Regions from separate parts of the Homo sapiens genome. Here all the other regions are linked to region 1. Evidence: promoter capture Hi-C in human tissues and cell types (Jung and others, 2019). All regions are on one chromosome and are shown on one strand. The core of a region is centred on a gene start or on the middle of the fragment in contact, and the rest is flanking DNA. Distances in the headings are between cores, read along the strand shown.

What was found. The method cuts DNA at HindIII sites, captures the fragments that hold promoters and counts their contacts. A contact is called where the count stands out against the background at its distance.
Region 2: a contact is called between a fragment that was not itself captured here and the fragment with the promoter of PTPRG in region 1, in 1 of the 25 tissues and cell types used here (IMR-90 fibroblasts).
Region 3: a fragment that was not itself captured here is called in contact with the fragment with the promoter of PTPRG in region 1 in 4 of the 25 tissues and cell types used here (IMR-90 fibroblasts, aorta, dorsolateral prefrontal cortex and 1 more).
Region 4: a fragment that was not itself captured here is called in contact with the fragment with the promoter of PTPRG in region 1 in 1 of the 25 tissues and cell types used here (aorta).
Region 5: a fragment that was not itself captured here is called in contact with the fragment with the promoter of PTPRG in region 1 in 1 of the 25 tissues and cell types used here (H1 embryonic stem cells).
Region 6: a contact is called between a fragment that was not itself captured here and the fragment with the promoter of PTPRG in region 1, in 1 of the 25 tissues and cell types used here (adrenal gland).

Annotation. Positions count from the first base shown.
Region 1 is chr3:61,559,873-61,562,981 of GRCh38, forward strand. PTPRG (protein tyrosine phosphatase receptor type G) reads left to right here and starts at 1,699. Exons shown (of 30, transcript NM_002841.4): 1 at 1,699-2,500. The coding sequence starts at 2,416. RefSeq lists an enhancer at 1-476. The HindIII fragment of the contact is 9,021 bases long and covers 1-3,109 here.
Region 2 is chr3:61,783,648-61,786,756 of GRCh38, forward strand. All of the region lies in intron 2 of PTPRG (protein tyrosine phosphatase receptor type G), which reads left to right. Among named protein-coding and RNA genes, the nearest start is that of PTPRG, 220 kb to the left of the region's middle. The HindIII fragment of the contact is 5,540 bases long and covers 1-3,109 here.
Region 3 is chr3:61,766,150-61,769,258 of GRCh38, forward strand. The region is part of intron 2 of PTPRG (protein tyrosine phosphatase receptor type G); the gene reads left to right. Among named protein-coding and RNA genes, the nearest start is that of PTPRG, 210 kb to the left of the region's middle. The HindIII fragment of the contact is 5,933 bases long and covers 1-3,109 here.
Region 4 is chr3:61,723,184-61,726,292 of GRCh38, forward strand. The region is part of intron 1 of PTPRG (protein tyrosine phosphatase receptor type G); the gene reads left to right. Among named protein-coding and RNA genes, the nearest start is that of PTPRG, 160 kb to the left of the region's middle. The HindIII fragment of the contact is 4,384 bases long and covers 1-3,109 here.
Region 5 is chr3:61,700,696-61,703,804 of GRCh38, forward strand. The region is part of intron 1 of PTPRG (protein tyrosine phosphatase receptor type G); the gene reads left to right. Among named protein-coding and RNA genes, the nearest start is that of PTPRG, 140 kb to the left of the region's middle. RefSeq lists an enhancer at 470-1,364. The HindIII fragment of the contact is 6,733 bases long and covers 1-3,109 here.
Region 6 is chr3:61,427,783-61,430,891 of GRCh38, forward strand. LOC105377114 (a long non-coding RNA gene) reads right to left here and starts at 933. Exons shown (of 7, transcript XR_940892.3): 1 at 732-933. The HindIII fragment of the contact is 4,121 bases long and covers 1-3,109 here.

The sequences.
Region 1 (3,109 bases), core at 449-2,948:
GGCTTTTATTAGTTTGTAATCCCATACGTAACTTTTCAAAGGTTTTTCTTTTGGAAGTGTGGGTGTGAAAATGCTTCCTTAATCACATCGAACGGGAGGATCTCCGACCATCTGTACTTTATTTGAAAACCTAGCATCCGGTTGGGATGTTTGGGTGGGTGGAGGACCCTGCCGTGTTGGGATGAAACAGCAGGGACACGTTTAAAACACAAGAACCATGCGCGGTGGCTCACGCCTGTAATCTCAGCACTTTGGGAGGCTGAGGCAGGCGGATCACAAGGTCAGGAGTTCGAGACCAGCCTTGCCAAAACGGTGAAACCCCGCCTCTACAAAAAAAACCAAAATAAAACAAAAAACAAACAAAAAAAACCACCAAAAAAATAATCAGCCGGGCGTGGTGGCGGGCGCCTGTAGTCCCAGCTACTCGGGAGGCTGAGGCAGGAGAATCGCCCGAACCCGGGAGGCGAAGGTTGTAGTGAGCCGAAATCGAGCCACTGTACTCCAGCCTGGGCGACGGAGCGAGACTCCGTCTCAAAACAAAACAAAACAATCCCACGTCAAGATCGCTTTGAAACACAGGCAGAAAAATTAGGCAAAAAATGTCAAACGGCTAATTACCTTGGCTCAGTTACACATTTACTCGAAAGCCCGCCTCCCCCACTTTTAGCCCCAGCGTTAAGAATGTAAAATAGGGCGCTTAGAAGTCTAAGCGATAAAGATCTTCTTACCGAGAGCCAAGGGACAAAACTCATTACAGATAAGCCTAGTCCTCCCATTTCCCCCGGACGCCTCTCCCCGATTGCTAAAGAAGCAGCCGCTCCCCGGGTAGCTGCCAGGAAATCAGTCCGGCCCCGCGGCGCTGCTTTCACCCTGCAGGGTGTAAGAGGCGCACTTCCTGCGCCCTCCCCGCGGCCAAACCGGGGTGCGGGAACCTTCTCCAGAGAAGCTGCGAGTTGGGGAAACTCCGCCACCGATCCATCGTGGCGCCGGGAAAGGGGATGCGGGGCTCGGAAGGGCTAGATTTCGCAATCCTGGGATCGACATTCCTCCCCTCCCCCACTTTCCCCAGCCTTGGACTGGGCCAATGAAAGCCCGAAAAAGAAAAAAAAAAAAAATTAAATCTCAATGTAGCCGGAGTGCAAAGGCCGCTCGGCTTTGTTTCCCGGCGGGGGAATGCGCTGTGTTGGAGGCGCGAACAGGAGCCGCAGACGGTGAGCCTCACCGCTGCAAATGCCAGGGCAGTGAAGCCGAACAGAAAACCCCATCGCTTTAAAAAGGCAGCTGTCCGCCCTCCCCCTTTCCCCTCGCCAGGGCGAGGGGCCCCTCAAGTCCGGGATCCGCGAGCTGCGCGGAGGATCTCGCCAAACCCGAGCACCGTGCGGCGTCTTTTAAGAGCTCGAACAACGGGAATCCAGCAAAAAACAAGCCGGCCCCAGAAGGCAGCCTCCCTCCTCTCTCCGCGCACGGGCTACAATCGCCCCCAGTCCCCAAACTGTCCCAGTAGAGGCCGCGCGGAGAGAGCAGAGCCGAGGGACCCAGCGCAAGGCGGGAGCCAAGCGCGGCTGCTTTAAGAACGCGGAGAGCGCGCGCCCGCCGCCAGCTGGCCCGGGCTGCGCGCCCCCGCCGCCACCGCGCGCCCCCTGTTCGCTCGCTCCTTCGCTCGCCGGCTTTAAAGTCTCTGCCAGGATCCATGCTCACATGTTACTTCCTGTATGGAGGCATGGCCAGTTTCCAGCCCCGCGCTCTTCGTTCCTTCCCAGCCTGCGCCGGAGCCACAACTTTCAGGAGCATGGACTGAAGGCGCCCTCGCCCCAGCGCCCCTCTGAGATCCTTTGTGTTTTCCTCCGTTTCCTCCGGCCGTTTCTATTTTGGGGGGCTCTCCGCTCCCCCTGCCTCTCCCCTCCCCTTCCCCTCTCGCAAACATGCCTCCTTCCTTCCCGGGGCCCTGGAAGGAGCTGCCTGCCTGAAGCCCGGAGACGCCGCGCCGCGCTCAGCCCCGCCGCCGCCCGCCGGCTCTCGGGCTGTGCTGCGCTGCCGACTCAAGTTGGGGATCCTCGGCTGCTCGCCGCCGCCGCCCGCGGTCCCTGCCTGCCCCAGGCCCGGGGCATCGCCGCCGGCCGCCGACTCCGCGCCCTGCCCGATCGGCTCTCTCCTTTTTAAACGGAAAGCAGCCTTTCTCCGCCGAGAGGATCGTCCCCAGCGTGGCTCTGCGTTCCCGGTCACTTTTTGAGATTTTCCGGGGGGCGCTCGGCGGCTTCCCGGATTCCAAGGGGACTCGGGCCGCCGAGCGCGGGGGGCCCGTGGAGCGGGCGAGCCGGGGAAGCGCCCCGGCTTAGCGGAGGCTCGCACGGAGGCAAGAACTTATTCAACAAGTTTACCTCCCTGCTTTCCTCTTTTCGATGTGCGTTTTCGGACATGCGGAGGTTACTGGAACCGTGTTGGTGGATTTTGTTCCTGAAAATCACCAGTTCCGTGCTCCATTATGTCGTGTGCTTCCCCGGTGAGTGCCGGCCGCCGAGGGGATGCGGCCCCGGCCGGCGCGCGTTGGGGATGCGGAGTTGTCGCCTGGGCGCGGAGCTCCGGCGCCCGTCCGGGAGACCCTGGAGAGGGTGGAGGGTGGCCCGGCGCCCGGATAGGAGAAAAGGATTGCTCCGCTGGCTTGGATGATGTTTAGGGAGGCAGGCTAGTGGTCGAGGAAGGTGGAGGCAGGGGCTGGCCGGGGAGGGGGCTGGGGGACGCGGGGGTCTGCTCCCGCTCCCTTTTGGGGGTCCTGGGGAGCTGGAATCGGGAGAAAGGGGGACTTGCTTTGCTGACTCGTCGCCGATCGGGAGAACTCGAGTTGTGGGGCGGTTGGGGAGACTGAGGCCATGGAAAGGATGCTTCTGTGGGTTTGGGGGGCCCGGGATGAGCCCCCTCGCTCTGGCGGGTATTGAAGGAACTCAGAAGGTGGGGGTTTGCTTTGCTGTTCTCCATCCCTTTGGGAGGGCTAGGTTTCGGGGAATGGAAGTCGGAGGCTGGCTGCGGAGGACTGAGGATGTGTGGGGAGCAGCCTGCGTTCTGGGTCGGGGGCGTCCTCCCTCTCTCTGGGGGCTGGGGCGCGGGCAGCACT
Region 2 (3,109 bases), core at 204-2,703, 220 kb after region 1:
GAGTGGGGAGCTGGCAGCAGCATGTTTGGTGCAGTAGAGAAAGTATGAACAAGGGGTGGAAGCCAGGACTAGCATAGCTCATGCTGGGTGGAGGGCCACAGTGAGGTCCTAAGCCCTGGAAGGAATGTGAAGGCAGGCACTGGAGACAGATGAACTTGGGTTGCATATCGGGGCCTTGTCGTGGAGAGCCTTCATGCCAAGTTTTGGACTCTAAAGTGGAGACATGACAGGGATCTGTGCAGTGATTGACTGAGTTAATTGGAGGTGCTAGCTGGATGTACTGTTGGAAAAGTTCATCTGGCCATTGGGCATTTGAACCTGAGCATGGGATGGGGTCAGAGGTTTGGGATTAGCTTAGATGACTGAAGGAAAATTATAGAGCAATATCCCCTGAGAAACACCAATATTAAAGAAGCTGAAAAACCAAGAGGAACCTGCATAGAGAAGGCTAGGAATGGTGAAAACTACACTGTGGACCTAAGAGCAGTGGGTGAGCCAGAAACTGCTGCAGAATTTGGAAGGAGGTGAATAATTGGTGATGTCAGCGGGGCCACACTCACAGGAGCCTGCCATCCTATTCCCAGCAGCTGATCTGAAGGGCAAGGCTACATGCTGAGTGGCAGTGGGGTTGGGGGACGGGGTTAGGTGATGTTGGATTGAGCGAGAAGCAGCCGTCATTTAACTAATGATTTTCCCTTCCTTCATTTTTTTCAGATACTTATTTCTTAATGCACACCATAATATGTAAATATTTTTGATTCTATAAAGACATAGTTTTAACCTAATTGGGTGGGGGAGAGAGTTTGTGTGAGTGAGTCAAATGAATCATAGAGTTTATTCCTGGAATGAGTACGGACTGTGGTTGAGGATGTTGAGGGTAAGTTAGCAGCTGACATCTGTGTTTCACTTTAAGCTTCCACAAGACTTAAGCCAGATCTAGTTAGCTGATCATCTGCATAGTTGTTCTTTAAGTTGGGTATGCATAACGCTGGTAGATTAGGAGCTTGATAATTTCATTAAGTGATCATGATCTATTTCTTCTGCCTTTCCATTTTTACATGTAGAAGCAAATATCGTTACCAACCAAAATGACCCATTTGCTCTCATTATGAATTACAATTCTTTTAAAGAATTTAGTATGCATATCCTTGACCTTTTTTGAAATTAAAAATTATCTTGAAAATTTACCTCTCCGTCTGTAATTTCTGTGGTGTGCTCAAGAACAGCTTAATAGTCTGAAAACGGATGAATTTAAAATTAGAGAGTTGAAGGTCGTAACCCAGCAGTGATAACTCAGCTAATGAAATATTCATTTCCAAGTACGAAGTGGCACTGTATATCAATATGTTGTCACTGTCTGTCATCATTACGTAGAGCACAGGTATATTTATGCATTTATAAATAGCTAAGGGAAAAAAGAGGCTAATTACATGCAGAAATGCTACAGAAATTTCCGTGGCTGTGCTTCTAACAGGCAACTGCTAACCATTTTTCCAAGCCACGTTTGTGAATTAAGTATAGGTTCTGCACATTAACCTCTGCCGTATTTGGTTTTTAGAATGATGCTCTTAGGGGGAGGACAATTCAGGAGATATACATACTTTTTAAGGTCATGTCCACACTAGGGATTTGTTTATACAAATGTAAAATGAAACGTGCAATTTAGCACCTATCTAGAAAAATTAAACCGAAAACTGTTTGGTTTGAAAAATCTAGAACATTGTAGAAGAGAGATATATTTATATAATTAGCATCACCAATTAAGAATGAATTGACTTTAGCAAAAATCAATGTAATTATCTAGATAATTCAGGCTAATTAAAGACCTTCCCAAATCCTTAGATCTTCATTAGCTGCATGCTTCTGGTAAAAGCAGATTTTTGGGGTGTCACATTAGCTTTATATTTTGCATCAGTCTTGCTCTATTCTGCTGCCGTAGACCTGGCTTCAAATGATAGTGCCCACTTGATAAACAGATGTTGTTCAGGAGAAAATAAAATAGGAAATATAAAATATTCTGTGTCGAATTGAAAGCATGAGGGTCCTCATGTTCTTAGAATCTTCTTAGAAATACAGTATAAAATCTTTATATACAGATACACATTGACAACAATAGAGAACTCATAAGCAGTTACCTGAGCAGGGTTGAACATATAGGTAGGGTCATGATGATAATACACTAATGAACAGCCTGCCTTACACACATGCCTCCAATACACAGACACATACACACTTAGCTTAGGGAAGTAGGGCCACTTCTCTCCTGTTTGTTCTTTTCCTTGGATTCCTATACTTCCCTGGGCCTGTCAGTAACCATCCCTTCTCCCCAGTCACACTTTTTCTGTAGTCCCCTCTCTAAACAGGAAGCGACAACTACTAATTAGACTTATAAATAAAAGCCACCTTAAATGAACATCATGTGTAGGTTTCCCAAGTTATACGTGCCTCTGGCCTTTTTCTCATCATTTACTATGGAAATAAAGACAAACAAACATATTTTCCCCCATAATCTTTGGAGGGTAGAGTAGGTAGTGTCAGATGTGCCTGTTATGGTGGTTGTTCAGAAATTAAAAGAGGGCAATTTGCATTGGCCAATGGACACTTTAGCTTCTAAAAAATTCATTTTATTCTTCTTCTTTGATTATTCCTAGCTTTTAATCTGAGTAAAGGACATAGATTGTGGCTTGGCCTTACTTCATGGCATGGGAAGCACATGATACGAATAAACTTGACTTAGTACTGTATTTGGCCGTGGCTTGACTTGATACCTTGAGCCTCATGAGTTATTTCATCAGTTGGTCGCTAGTTATGGTTCTTTATCTTTCAAGGGCCTTAACAAAAATTTTTAAAGAGCCAGGCTGGTTATCGTAACTATTATAGGAATTCAAGGGTGGTTGGAGAGTCAACGTAGCGAAGAGTTAGAAAAGAGGAAAGAAATCCACCCCCAGACTGGGTATGTATCATTGATAGTGTCAGAAACAGGCAGGAGTATTATTTTTGGAGAAAAGACCTACTTTTACCTTTGTGCTTCTATTTTTATACTTATGTCTCATGATGTTTTTAAGACGCCAGAAATGACATATGTCTATCAAGTTTTGAAACTAATATG
Region 3 (3,109 bases), core at 263-2,762, 210 kb after region 1:
TTTAAATTGGAATGATAATATCATACCAAAAGTATTGATATATCCATTTAAATTGTGAGCTGTGAATGTTATTCCATCTTCCTTCATTCCTATACAGTTTCGAGCTCAAATTGGAGAAGGTCATGTGAAAACCACTTTTCTCCCCAAAGAAATGTTGGCATTATTTTAACATCTTTTTCCTACCCTGGATTCTTTCTCACATCCCAGACTAATTCCAAAAGAGTTTCTTCAGTCACTGCTGTTGACAAGAGACTTTATTTTTGGAGATAATTTTTTCTTGTTAAGTTTTCTTTCTTAGATTTTGATTCTAACATCTCTAATTGATAATCACATTTTCCAGATTTCTATCTATATATTAAAGGAGTAGATCTGGAATTTCAGCTCTCTTTAGTAGACTGCATTATAGAAAGGAAACTTTGTTCGTATCACACATGTATTATTTAACACCATTATTAATGTTAAAAAAAATTTTTTTTTTTTTTCGTTTAAGACAGTCTCACCCTGTTGCCCAGATTGGAGTGTGGTGTCATAATCTCTGGTCACTGCAACCTCCATCTCCTGAGTTTAAGCAATTCTCCTGTCTCAGCCTCCCTAGTAGCTGGGATTGCAGGCATTTGCCACCATACCCAGCTAATGTTTATTGTATTTTTAGTAGAGATGGTTTTTCACCATGTTGGCCAGGCTGGTCTCAAACTCCTGATCTCAAATGATCTGCACACCTTGGCCTCCCAAAGTGCTGGGATTACAGGCATGAGCCATCGCGCCCAGCCCAGCCATTGATTATTAAACATGTTACTTAGAAAGTAGAATTAGGACAGGAGCACTGGCTCAGGCCTGTAATACCAGCACTTTGGGAGGCCGAGGCAGGCAGATGACTTGAGGTCAGGAGTTCGAGACCATCCCGGCCAACATGGTGAAACCCCATCTCTACTAAAAATACAACAATTAGCTGGGCGTGGTGGTGCACGCCTGTAGTCCCAGCTACTTGAGAGGCTGAGGCAGGAGAATTCCTTGAACCTGAGAGACAGAGGTTGCAGTGAGCCGAGATTGCACCACTGCACTCTAGCCTTGTGACAGCAAGATTCCATCTCAAAAAAAAAAAAAAAAAGAAAGTAGAATTATCAAACTCCATTTTTTTAACTAATTTTTTATGTTAAAAAAGGCATACCATTTTCTTTTACTCTCATTTTGTTTTTGCTTATTCTAGTACATGATGATTTCCTTGTAGTAAATAGTTTTTTCTAATTTTCCCCATGTAGACAAATCCAAAATGCATACATGCTCATTTAAATAATTTGTCCACTGGTAACCTCAGCTGAGCGCTGCCCTTGGCAGAATATGTTTTACAGGATATTAAATGTGTTTAAAATATTCTTTCATATTAATTGGTTGGCATTTAGATGTCTTAAGTTGTTTTAATAAATTAGGGAAAGCTAGAATATAAAAGGTAGAAAATATATACATTTTCAGTGTTCCAAGACACTTTGGTGGACTATAGAATGCTTTAAATGCAAGTTAAGATGAATGTTTTATATTTGGCTGGGCATAATGGCTCATGCCTATAATCTCAGCACTTTGGGAAGCCGAGGTGGGAGGATCGCTTGAGCCCAGGAGTTCAAGACCAGCCTAAGCAACATAGTGGGATCCCGTTTGTACCAAAGGAAAAAAAAAATAGCTGGATATGGTGGCACACGCCTGTAGTTCCAACTACTGTGGAGGCTTACATAGGAGGATTGCTTGAGCCTGGGAGGTTGAGGCTACAGTGAGCTGTGATTGCACCAGTGCACTCCAGCCTGGGTGACAGAAAGCAAGACCCTGTCTCAAAAAAAAAAAAAAAAAAAAAATCTTGGTATTTAATTTTGATCTCTCACTACGGAACAGAATAGATTTATGCATTGGGAGGATAGGAAATATAATAATTAGAGATATATTAATTGATTTTAGATTTTTGTCTGTAAAATACTAGTCATAAATGCAGTTACTAGAATCCATGTTTATGGTCTTTGAATTTGATCAAGACAGAGAGTTATTCATCAAAAAGCCACTAGACCCACCATTTATCACAACTAATCGTGAACTTATATCTCTGTAACTCACAGGTATGATGTATGTCTTTTTTTTGGTAGGGATATTTACTACAGGAATTAATTTCAGACATTGGGAGACTTTTATAGCCATTTAACTGTTAGCTACCTAGAGATTTAAATAATTTTCCTGGTTTCTCTGTGTTAGCCTCTGGGAGTAGAGTTTCTCTGCACAAAAAGAATGTCATCAGTACAGAATTGTTGGAGTCTCTCTTTGCCAGCCTCAGTACTGAGTCTGTGTAGGAAGTCCCCGGCAAGTAGCTAAGTATGGGTTGTTGCTCGGAGAGCATTTTCTCAAAATCTGTGTCTGGAACATTAGTTGAGGAGGCTGTTCACAGGCTTTTTATGGCAGGAGGGTTCTGTGACCATGGAAGATTGGGAAAGGCCAAAGTAAAGATTGTCATACAGGTTTCTTTGCTGCAAGACTTCTCAGATCCTTTAATAGTCCACTCTTAATAGAATTGGAAACTTGTCCTTCACTGTGCACTTAGACGTCCGATTAGAAAGTGAGGGAAAGAGGAAAATAGTTGTGTGGGGGAGGGTGTGTTTGCCCAGGGAAGAGGGGTATGGGGGAGGAGAAAGGTTGATTCTCCTGAGTTGGCTCAGTGTCTACTATCATAATGATTTCCCCACAGCTTTATGAGGGCTGTGCTGCTGTTGTGAGGTGTGGTCACAGGGAAATTTCAGTCTGAAAGATGAGTTCCACATGATTCACACACCTCCTATGAAGTAGTAAAAGGAAAAACTATGCCAATTTACATTAGAAGTATTTTCCTTTCTTCTTTATTTCTTGGAAATGGAGCATTTGTGTATGAAAGAGTTCCTTGGGGGATAAAATGCCATTTAGTTTAATGTGATGACAATATGTATTTAAGTCACCATATGAAAATATTTACTAGAAACAATGACATTTGAATTTATGGACGTGAATTTTGCGTAATACCTTCCTTAAGAGGGTGATGATATATGGGAGTGTGGGATGGTTTTCTTTCACTGAATTTGGGATTAATAGAATTGTCACCCAC
Region 4 (3,109 bases), core at 329-2,828, 160 kb after region 1:
TAATAAACTTTTGTTTTATTTCCCAGTATTTTATTGGATGATTGACAGGAAGTTACAGATTTAAAGTCATGGTGACTTTTCTATTTTTTTTTCTTTTTACTGTCACAACAGCATTAATTTTCATGGCCTGATGATCTGTTGAGATATCTTTCTAAGAAGTTGCTAAGTTTTATCTGCCCTCATCTTCCTCCATCCCTCCCCCTTGGTATTACCATTATAAATAGGATACATGTGCACATTTTTGGTGAAACAAGAAAAGGGAAACCCCCATGGTTTCATTGTCTTTAAATATATATTTTCTCATGTTACGAGGTCCTTGTTTCTATCAAAAAGGGTTGGATAGAAAGTAAAAATGATGGCTACTGTTAGATTATCTTTAGAAGAGATATATATTATTAAAAATACCATTAACTTTTAATTTTGAAATAATTGTAGATTCACAGGAAGGTGCCAAGATAGTACAGAGCGGTCCCATATACCCCCTTTTTTTGTTTTCTCTAGTGGTTCCATCTTACAGGATTACAGTACAATATCAAAACCAGGAGTTTGATATTGGCACAATATATGTTTGTAGGTCGTGGACATTTTATCTCATATATGGTGTAACCACTGCTGAAGTCCAGATACTGGATGATTCCCATGTCACAAAGATTTCCCTCATTCTACCCCTTTATAATTGCAAACATCCTTTCCTCTACTATCTCCAAATGGTGGCATCCACTAATCTGTCTTACATCTCTCTCATTTCGTCATTTTGAGAATATTGGGCTGGGCCCTGTGGCTCATGCCTATAATCCCAGCACTTTGGGAGGCTGAGGCGGGTGGATCACTTGAGGTCAAGAGTTTGAGACCAGTCTGACCAATATGGTGAAACCTTGTCTCTACTAAAAATACGAAAATTAGCCTGGGTGTGGCAGTTGGCGTCTGTAACCCCAGCTACTTGGGAGGCTGAGGCACTGGAGGGGGAGGTTGCAGTGAGCTGAGATCATGCCACTGTACTCCAGCCTGGGTGACAGAGTGAGACTCCCATCTCCAAAAAAAAAAAAAAGTAGTTATATACATAGAATCATATAATATGTATATAGTGTGTGACTTTCATAGTGCCCCTGATCTCCATCCAAGTCATTGTGTGCACCAATAGTTTGCTTGGCCTTATTGTAAAGTAGTATTCTGTGGCATGGATGCACCACAGTTGGTTTAATCTTTCACCTTTTGAGGGAGATTTTGGTTGTTTTCACTTCCTAGCTGCTACAAAGTCAAATATTAACAGTGCGTACACGTTTTTGGATGATCATAAGTTTTCACTTCCCTGGGATAGTCACCCCAGAATACAGTTGCTGGGGTGTATGGTAAATGTATATTTAAGTTTTTTTTACTGCCAGGCTCTTCCAGAGTACCTTTCCCACTCTACACTCCCACCAGCAATGCATAAGAGATCCAGTTTTTTTGCATCCACCCCAGCAGCTTTTGGTATTACCACTATTTTTTTATTTTAGCGATTCTGATAGGTATGCAGTTATATCTCAGTGTGGTCCCAATTTTCATTTTCCTGGTGGCTAATGATACCGAATATCCTTTCATGTGCTCATTTGCTGTCCTGTCTTTGTGTCTTTTGCCCACTTTCTTATTGGATTTCTTTTTACTGTTGAGTTTTGAGAGTTCTACACACACTCTAGATAGTAGATATTTGCAAACCCCATCAGATATGTGGTTTGCAAATATTTTTTATCAGTATAGAGCCTGTTCCCACGTCCTCTCACCAAGGCTCTTTATAGCACAAACATTCTTACTTTGAATGAAATCGAATTGATTGATTTCTTCTCTCTGGCCGATGCTTTGGTTGTCATATCTGAAAACTCTTCACCAAGCACCAGGTACAGAAGATTTTCTCTTCTCCTTTTTTACCACTTACGAGTTTCATACTTTACATTTAAATGTACAATCCATTTTGAGTTAATTTTTGTGTAAGTTGTGAGATTTACGTTGAGATACGCTTTTTTTTGGGACAGAATCTTGCTCTGTCACCCAGGCTGGAGTACAGTGGCGTGATCTGGGCTCACTGCAACCTCCACCTCCTGAGTTCAAGTGATTTCTGGCTAATTTTTGTATTTTTAGTAGAGACAGGATTTTCACCATGTTGGCCAGGCTGATCTGGAGCTCCTGACCTCAAGCGATCTACCTACCTCAGCCTCCCAAAGTGTGAGATACACTTTGTATTTTATTTTTTAAATTTTTTGCCTGTGGATGTCCAATTGCTCCAGCACCATTTGTTGAAAAGACTATCCTTCCTCCATTGAACTGCCTTTGCACCTTTGTCAAAAATCAGTTGGCCGTACTCTGTGGGTCTCCTTCTGGGTTCTCTATTCTGTTCCATTGATCTTTATGCCTGAATCTCAGCCTATACCACATAGTCTTGATAACTTTAGATATAGAACAAGTCTTGAATTTGGATAGAGTGATTCTACCCACTCTATTCTTCTCTTTTTGAAGATTTGATTCCCTGCCTACCTCCACCACTACCCCCACCTTTTTTTTTTTTTTTTGGCTTGGAATGGCTACTGTGTTCATTGCAAATGACCACAGCACTCCCTGAGAAATCTTCCCTTTCATGTGGCACATTTAATCCTGAGGGCCAGTTCTAACGGTTTGGTAATGTCTTATCATCTGTTTTATTCCTTTCTGGATTCCAATTTTAAGTCAGATCGAGAGAACAAGGCCTGGCCCAGCAGGAGAGTTCTCTGATCCTTCGGTCCTATCTGACTTGGGTATGATAGGTATGTGGTATCAACAAAGCTGGGTTTTTGCCTCACTGGTATCAAATAAGGCACTGCTGAGTGTTAGTTGGAGAAGAGCCAGAAGCTTATGACTGGCTGGGATGAGTGGTAGAGAACAGGCCTTCCCCACATATTTAATCTAACCTCTCTAGTTTAAATATTTCCAGTGGATCATCATACTCTATGACCTTGTGACATAAATCTGCACAGAGCGGCAGTTCTTATCTTCAGACTTCAGTCAAGTTTCATTACTGTGGTTTATGTGTAGTGGCTTTGTTTTGGGGCTTCCGCTTATACTGCTGTCTGCTTGTTTACCATCTCTTTCAAGCGAAAGG
Region 5 (3,109 bases), core at 410-2,909, 140 kb after region 1:
TTTTAGCCTTGTTCCAGAATATTCACATTTTGGGTTTTCTCTTCTGAATGTAGAAGGAAAAATTCCCCTATTTTTTTCACACTCATGTTCAGCTCTGTCATTTTCATTCTGGGTATACATCCCTTTCCCATTTATTACATCTGTTACTTTTATACTACACAGGAAATACATGTAAAACATCCTACCCACTCTGATAGAAACAAATGTGCATCCCTGTCATTAAAGCTACACCTGTAAGCTTTGCCCCTATCCGGGTCAAAAGGCCCTATCATGTAAGGAATCCCAGCAACTAGCAAGGAAGTGAAGACAGTCTAGGAGGGAAAGACTCCTGGTTTTCTGGAAACCTATGCAGTGGGAGCTTTAATAGTTGCCCTCAATCTCCCTGCCCTCCTTGCTTGCCCCTTTGTTCTGTTTAAGGCTAGCTGCATATTTCTTCTTGTGTTTTCACGGAGTAGTCCACCATCACACCATATGGGCTTTTTCCTGTGGTGATTAATTAGGTTGCATGCTGAGCTCTCTGATTCTTTGGGGACTGTGTTTCCTCATGGTCTTGTCAGAACATGCAGAATAGCTGTGTGATACTTCTCACATTTGCACCCACTGCTAACAAGGTATCTGACAACTCCTCAATATCATGTTGGATGCAAGGCACAGGATGCTGCTGGGCTAGTGCTGTTTAATTTTCAGATCTCTGGTAGCTATGAGTTTGAGGAGGCTCGGGTCACATTTTCTTATTTATGTTTCATCTCTACTTTCATATGATTATAATAGTAATATTTGAAAACTTTTTGCATAAAGGCAGAAGAGGAAAAAACCCATATTTAGTGACTAATTTTTCTACAGTATAATAATGAAAAGAAGTGAGTGCAGAAACATTTCTAACAATTGTTATAATAATGATGGTGATAGAAATAATTGAAGGCTGGGCACAGTGGCTCACACCTGTGATCCCAGTAGTTTGGGAGGCCAAGGTGGGTGGATCCCTTGAGCCCAAGAGTTCAGGACCAGCCTGGCAACATGGCGAAACCTCACCTCTACTAAAAATAAAAAAATTATCCAGGTGTCGTGTCACGTGACTGTCATCTGAGCTACTCAGGAAGCTGAGGTGGGAGGATCAGTTGAGCCCCCAGGAGGTCGAGACTGAAGGGAGTGCCACTGTACTCAGCCTGGGTGACAGAGCCAAGCCCTGTCTAAAAAAGAGAGAGAGAGGGAAGAGAAAGAGGAAGGAGAGGGAGGAAGGAGGAAGGAAGGAAAGAAAAAAGGAAAAAAGTAGCCTGTGTGCTTTCTTTTCTTTATTTTTTGAGACAGGGTCTCACTCTGTTGCCCAGGCTGGAGTGCAGTGGCGCGATCTCGGCTCACTGCAACCTCAGCCTTCTGGGTTCAAGTGATTCTCCTGCCTCAGCCTCTGGGGTAGCTAGGAGTATAGGCGAGCACCACCACACCTGGATAATGTTTGTATTTTTAGGAGAGACAGGGTTTTGCCATGTTGGCCAGGCTGTTCTTGAACTGCTGGCCTCAAGTGATCTACCCACCTCGGCCTCCCAAAGTGCTGGGATTACAGGCGTGAGCCACCGCGTCTGGCCATGAATAGTAGCCTGTGTGCTTTGATGCATCCTGCTAAGACTTTACCCATCCTTACCTTTTAAAATATTGACCCTAACATGCTGAGAATAGGAACTGTTACTTTCTTCATTTTAGAGAAGAGGATTTTGAGGCCCAGGAAATAAAGTAACTGACTGTAAGTCCCTCTTAGGGAGAGTTACATTTTTACAAAACTTTTCATTAAACAATTAAAAAAATTTAGTTTGAGTTAAAACGTTTATACACACGTGTACACACACACACAGGCACAGTAAATTGTACAAATCTGAAGTATGTGGCTCAGTGTGTTTCTATAGGTGTGTTACTGCTTTCACCTGAGTGGCTGCCTTGCAGATCAAGATGGAATACTTTCTAGCATTCCAGGCACATCTGTCATTTTTCCCAACCCCCCACCAGGTAACCACTATTGTATTTCCACTCACCATACAGATAGATTTGCCCACATAACTTAGGGAACTCTTTTGGGTCTGTCTGCTTTTGCTCAACATAATGTCTATGAAATTCACACGTGATGTTGTGCGGTACTTACTCTTTAGTTATTGATTATACAACTATACAACAGTTTGCCAGTTTTCTTCTTGTTAGACCTTTTGAGTTCTTTCTAGTTTTAGGCTTTCATGAGTAAAGCTGTAAAGAGCAATCTTGTAAATGCCTGTTGGTGCACATTTGTATGCAGTTCCCTCTGGTGCCTACCATAAGGGATAAGGTTAAATGTAATTCATACGGTGGGTGCAGAATTTGCATTTGAACCTTGATTCTCTATAGGCAGAGCCTTGGCTCGTTACCACTACCCTCTGCTGCTGCCTGTAATTTTAAAGCCTGTATTTCTCCCCAGGTAAGGAAGTTGAATCTTTTTTTTTTTTTTCCCCCTGTATGAAAGTTCAGTGGACTGGCACTTTAAGATGGTTCTTAGCAGCTTGTGTTTGCCCCACTTATATAGGTGCCACACCATTAAACTGCCTATCATTTTCCGACTGATGCCTTTCTGGAAAATAGATAAAGGACATCAGAAGAATGCATCTTATCAGTATTGATTTAGCCGAAAGGGTTGTAAAGAAATCAGTTACAGTAATGTCAAATTTCATAAGATTGGTTTTGAGAGAGTAGCTGTGTCAACTAGGCTGACATTTTTTCTCTTTTGGCTTTATTTCGTAGTATGGGCATTAATGGTGGAGTGATCCAGATTTGGAAACCAAAAATGGTATTTCTAAGGCATTCCACAGGGCTGGGGGAGTTGATGCTGTATCTTTTCATGCTCCCTTGGTGCTAACTGGCTGTATGGCCTTGGGAAGGCCACTTAGTTTCTCCTGCCTCGCTCATTTGTAAAGTGGGGGGCATAGGATTGTATCAGTGAAACTTCACCTTTTCTTGGTAATCTGATGGATGACCCTCTCCTTTGAAAAACAAACACAAATCTGTGTAAATTTCAAACCCATTTCATATGGGCTTGTTGATACCTGTTAGCTCGTGATTTCTTAATTATAAAGGAAATTCCCAATTCTATTAT
Region 6 (3,109 bases), core at 344-2,843, 130 kb before region 1:
AGCACGGGAATTCGGACTGATTTGAAGTGTGGGCGGTGGGAGAGTGGGAAGTGTTAACCAAAATCTCTCCTCCCCCAACTTCTGCATGGCGCTACTGCATATATTATGCCCCCCTGCTGCTCACCATACCGTCCAAGCCAAGAGCATACAGAGCTTCTTGATGTGCTTTAATTCATTTCTCCCTTCACTCTCACACTCAAAAGGAAACGGGTAAGGTTAGGTAAAATTGCTACTTAATGAGGGGTTACTGAGTGTGTAATTGCTCCCAGAGTGTTTTTAGAGTAATAGTCCGCTGGTAGGAGCCAAGCTTGCTATAAAGAATCTTGCTAAACTGCCCAAAGATTGTAATTCCATTCACTGGTGGTTATTTGAGTAACATACCAAAGACTAAGGAGCATCATTTATTAAAAGCCCTTTGCGGCCGGGCACGGTGGCTCACACCTGTAATCTCAGCACTTTGGGAGGCTGAGGTGGGTGGATCACTTGAGGTCAGGAGTTCGAAACCAGCCTGGCCAACATGGTGAAACACCATCTCTACTAAAAATACAAAAATTAGCTGGGCCTGGTGGGTGGGTGCCTGTAATCCCAGGTCCTTGCGGGGCTGAGGCAGGAGAATCGCTTGAACCCGGGAGGCATAGGTTGCAGTGAGCTAAGATCGGGCCACTGCACTCCAGCCTGAGCCACAGAGCAAGACTCCGTGTCAAAAAAAAAAAAAAGTCCTTTTCTCTCACCTCATCTCAAGCAGTTCAGCAAATTCAGACGTTCAAGGTTTCCATCCTTGAGTTGTGGAGTGATGGGTACTGAAGTCAGTGCTGAGGTGCCTCTAGAAACTTCCTTCCAGCTGTAGAATTTACTAGGAAGTAGATGCATTCTTTGTCAGCGTTTTTTAGACAGAATCACTACACTATATTATTTTTTTAGAGCTTAAGGGAGCTTAGGATCATGATTGCATTCGTGTGCCCTATTTCACAAACGAGGTCAGCTAGCTGGGAGGACAGTTAGTTCGGCTGACTGCTAGCCTACTGCTCTTACCATTTTCTCCCAAGACAGAGGCATGGCATAACCTGATCTGTAATGAGGTGGCCCAGGAGGGATGGGCACACAGTTGGCATTGACAGGTAAGCTTCTGCTCACGTTCTCACTTGGTATTCATGTTTCTCTTGGTGGAAACTCTGCCATTTTTCCATAGTCCTAGAGTTGGTGTGAGGTTTGTTTTTATTTTATGTTTTCTCCCACCTTATAGCTTTCAAATCTTTCCCTTCAAGGCTATGGCCCAAATGTGCCAGGGGAAGACTGTCCAAACCTCCGTTTTCCCACAGAGGCTAGCGGAAGCCATGCAGGGCTGTCATTAGACTCCCTGAGCCGTGGTTAAATTACCTGAGGAGCGGTGCCCACTCCGGAAGTGGGTGCACTTAGACTTCCGTTTGTTTCCTCAAATCCGGTCATGGGATTTTTCTCTTCCTCAGAGAGGCAGCGGGATCCATTACTTCCAGTTCACCGCTTTCCCAGCACCATTTCAAATGCGCTTTGGTAAGGAGAACAAAGACAATGAGACCTCTTGGTATGCCTGCGTCTCCAGGTTGGGGTGTCTGTGAAAAAATCTCGGGGTTCTGTGGACTCTCCAGTCAGTTTCTGTGGAGTCAGAGTTAGGGGTAACCCTCGCCCTGGATCTTTGCAATTAATTTAGAAACTTGGAGAGATTTTTTTGCTTTTGGATTTTCTTTTTTTCCCCTGGGGCCACCATTCTGGGAGTTTATTGCCTTCAATTAAGTCTCTCTGCTTGTTGTAGGTGAATTACTTTTGCTCATTTTTACCGTAATTTACTCTTCAGACCCTGGGGAAACAATCGGCTCCAGGCAGCCATTTTCATCACAGCATCATTCACAAGAGAAATAACATCATCATGTGCCTGATAAAGTACAATAATATCATCTCTTGTATCCATTTTGTGAACTATCCACAACATTTTTAATCCTTTTATGTAACTTACTGTGACTCAAGCTACCACCTATGGGAATGTAAGCTCACTGGGGGCTCGCTGGGGACCTCCTCTTATTTGCCACTTTTTCCCAGCAGTATGTACAGTGCCTGGAATGTGTGGGCAGTTCACAAGTTGGTCGAATTAATAATAGACAAGTATTCGGGTTACATTACTAATTATTTTTAAATCATATGGAGTATGAAATTTGAGAAGAGAAGTAAGTGGTCTGGTGATTTGGCTTACACATTTCACCACTCACCTTTACTAAGATGGAAAATTAAATGCTATCTGTAGGTCCACAGTCAGAAAGAAAAAAAGTGATAAATAAGGACAGGTTGGAAAGACTTATGAACTAGCATTATAACGGTTCTCTCAAAGCTCTTTAAAAAAAACACACACACACACACACACAGTTTTGCACTGTTGCACATGCTAGAGTGTAGTGGCACCATCTCAGCTCACTGCAACCTGAGCCTCCCGGTTCAAGCAATTCTCGTGCCTCATCCACCAGAGTAGCTGGAACTACAGGCACGCGACACCACGCCCAGCTAATTTTTGTACTTTTGGTAGAGACGGGGTTTCGCCCTGTCGGCCAGGCTGGTCGCAAACTCCTGGCCTCAAGGAATCCGCCCACCTACACCTCCCAAAGTGCTGGGATTACAGGCGTAAGCTCTTGGCTCACACTGAAGGCTCTTTTGATTATCAGCAGCACACCCTACTCAAAGTAACTCAAATGAAAATGGAAGGTGAGAGTTAGTTGTAATGCTACAGCAACCTCACAGACACCAAAAAGTAGAAATGAAATTTAGTTGGACATTATGCAAACCAGAGCATGGCGAGCAGAATAACCAAGATTTCTCTGAGCAGAATAACCAAGATTTCTCTATGTGGCTTTTCTCATTTATGCATCTCAGAGTCAGGTCCTTCATCTTTCTCTCACCTGCCTTCCTCTGCCTACTCATCTTACATAACATAGCGCAGCAGTGGTAACTTCAGATCCTAGGTTACATGACTTGTCTACTCTAGTGCCCATCTTTGATGATAACCTCTCTGCATGAGCATCTAAGTAAACTTATGTGACTTTGAGAAGCGCTTTAGAAGTCATAGGTAGGTAGCCAACCAATGCAG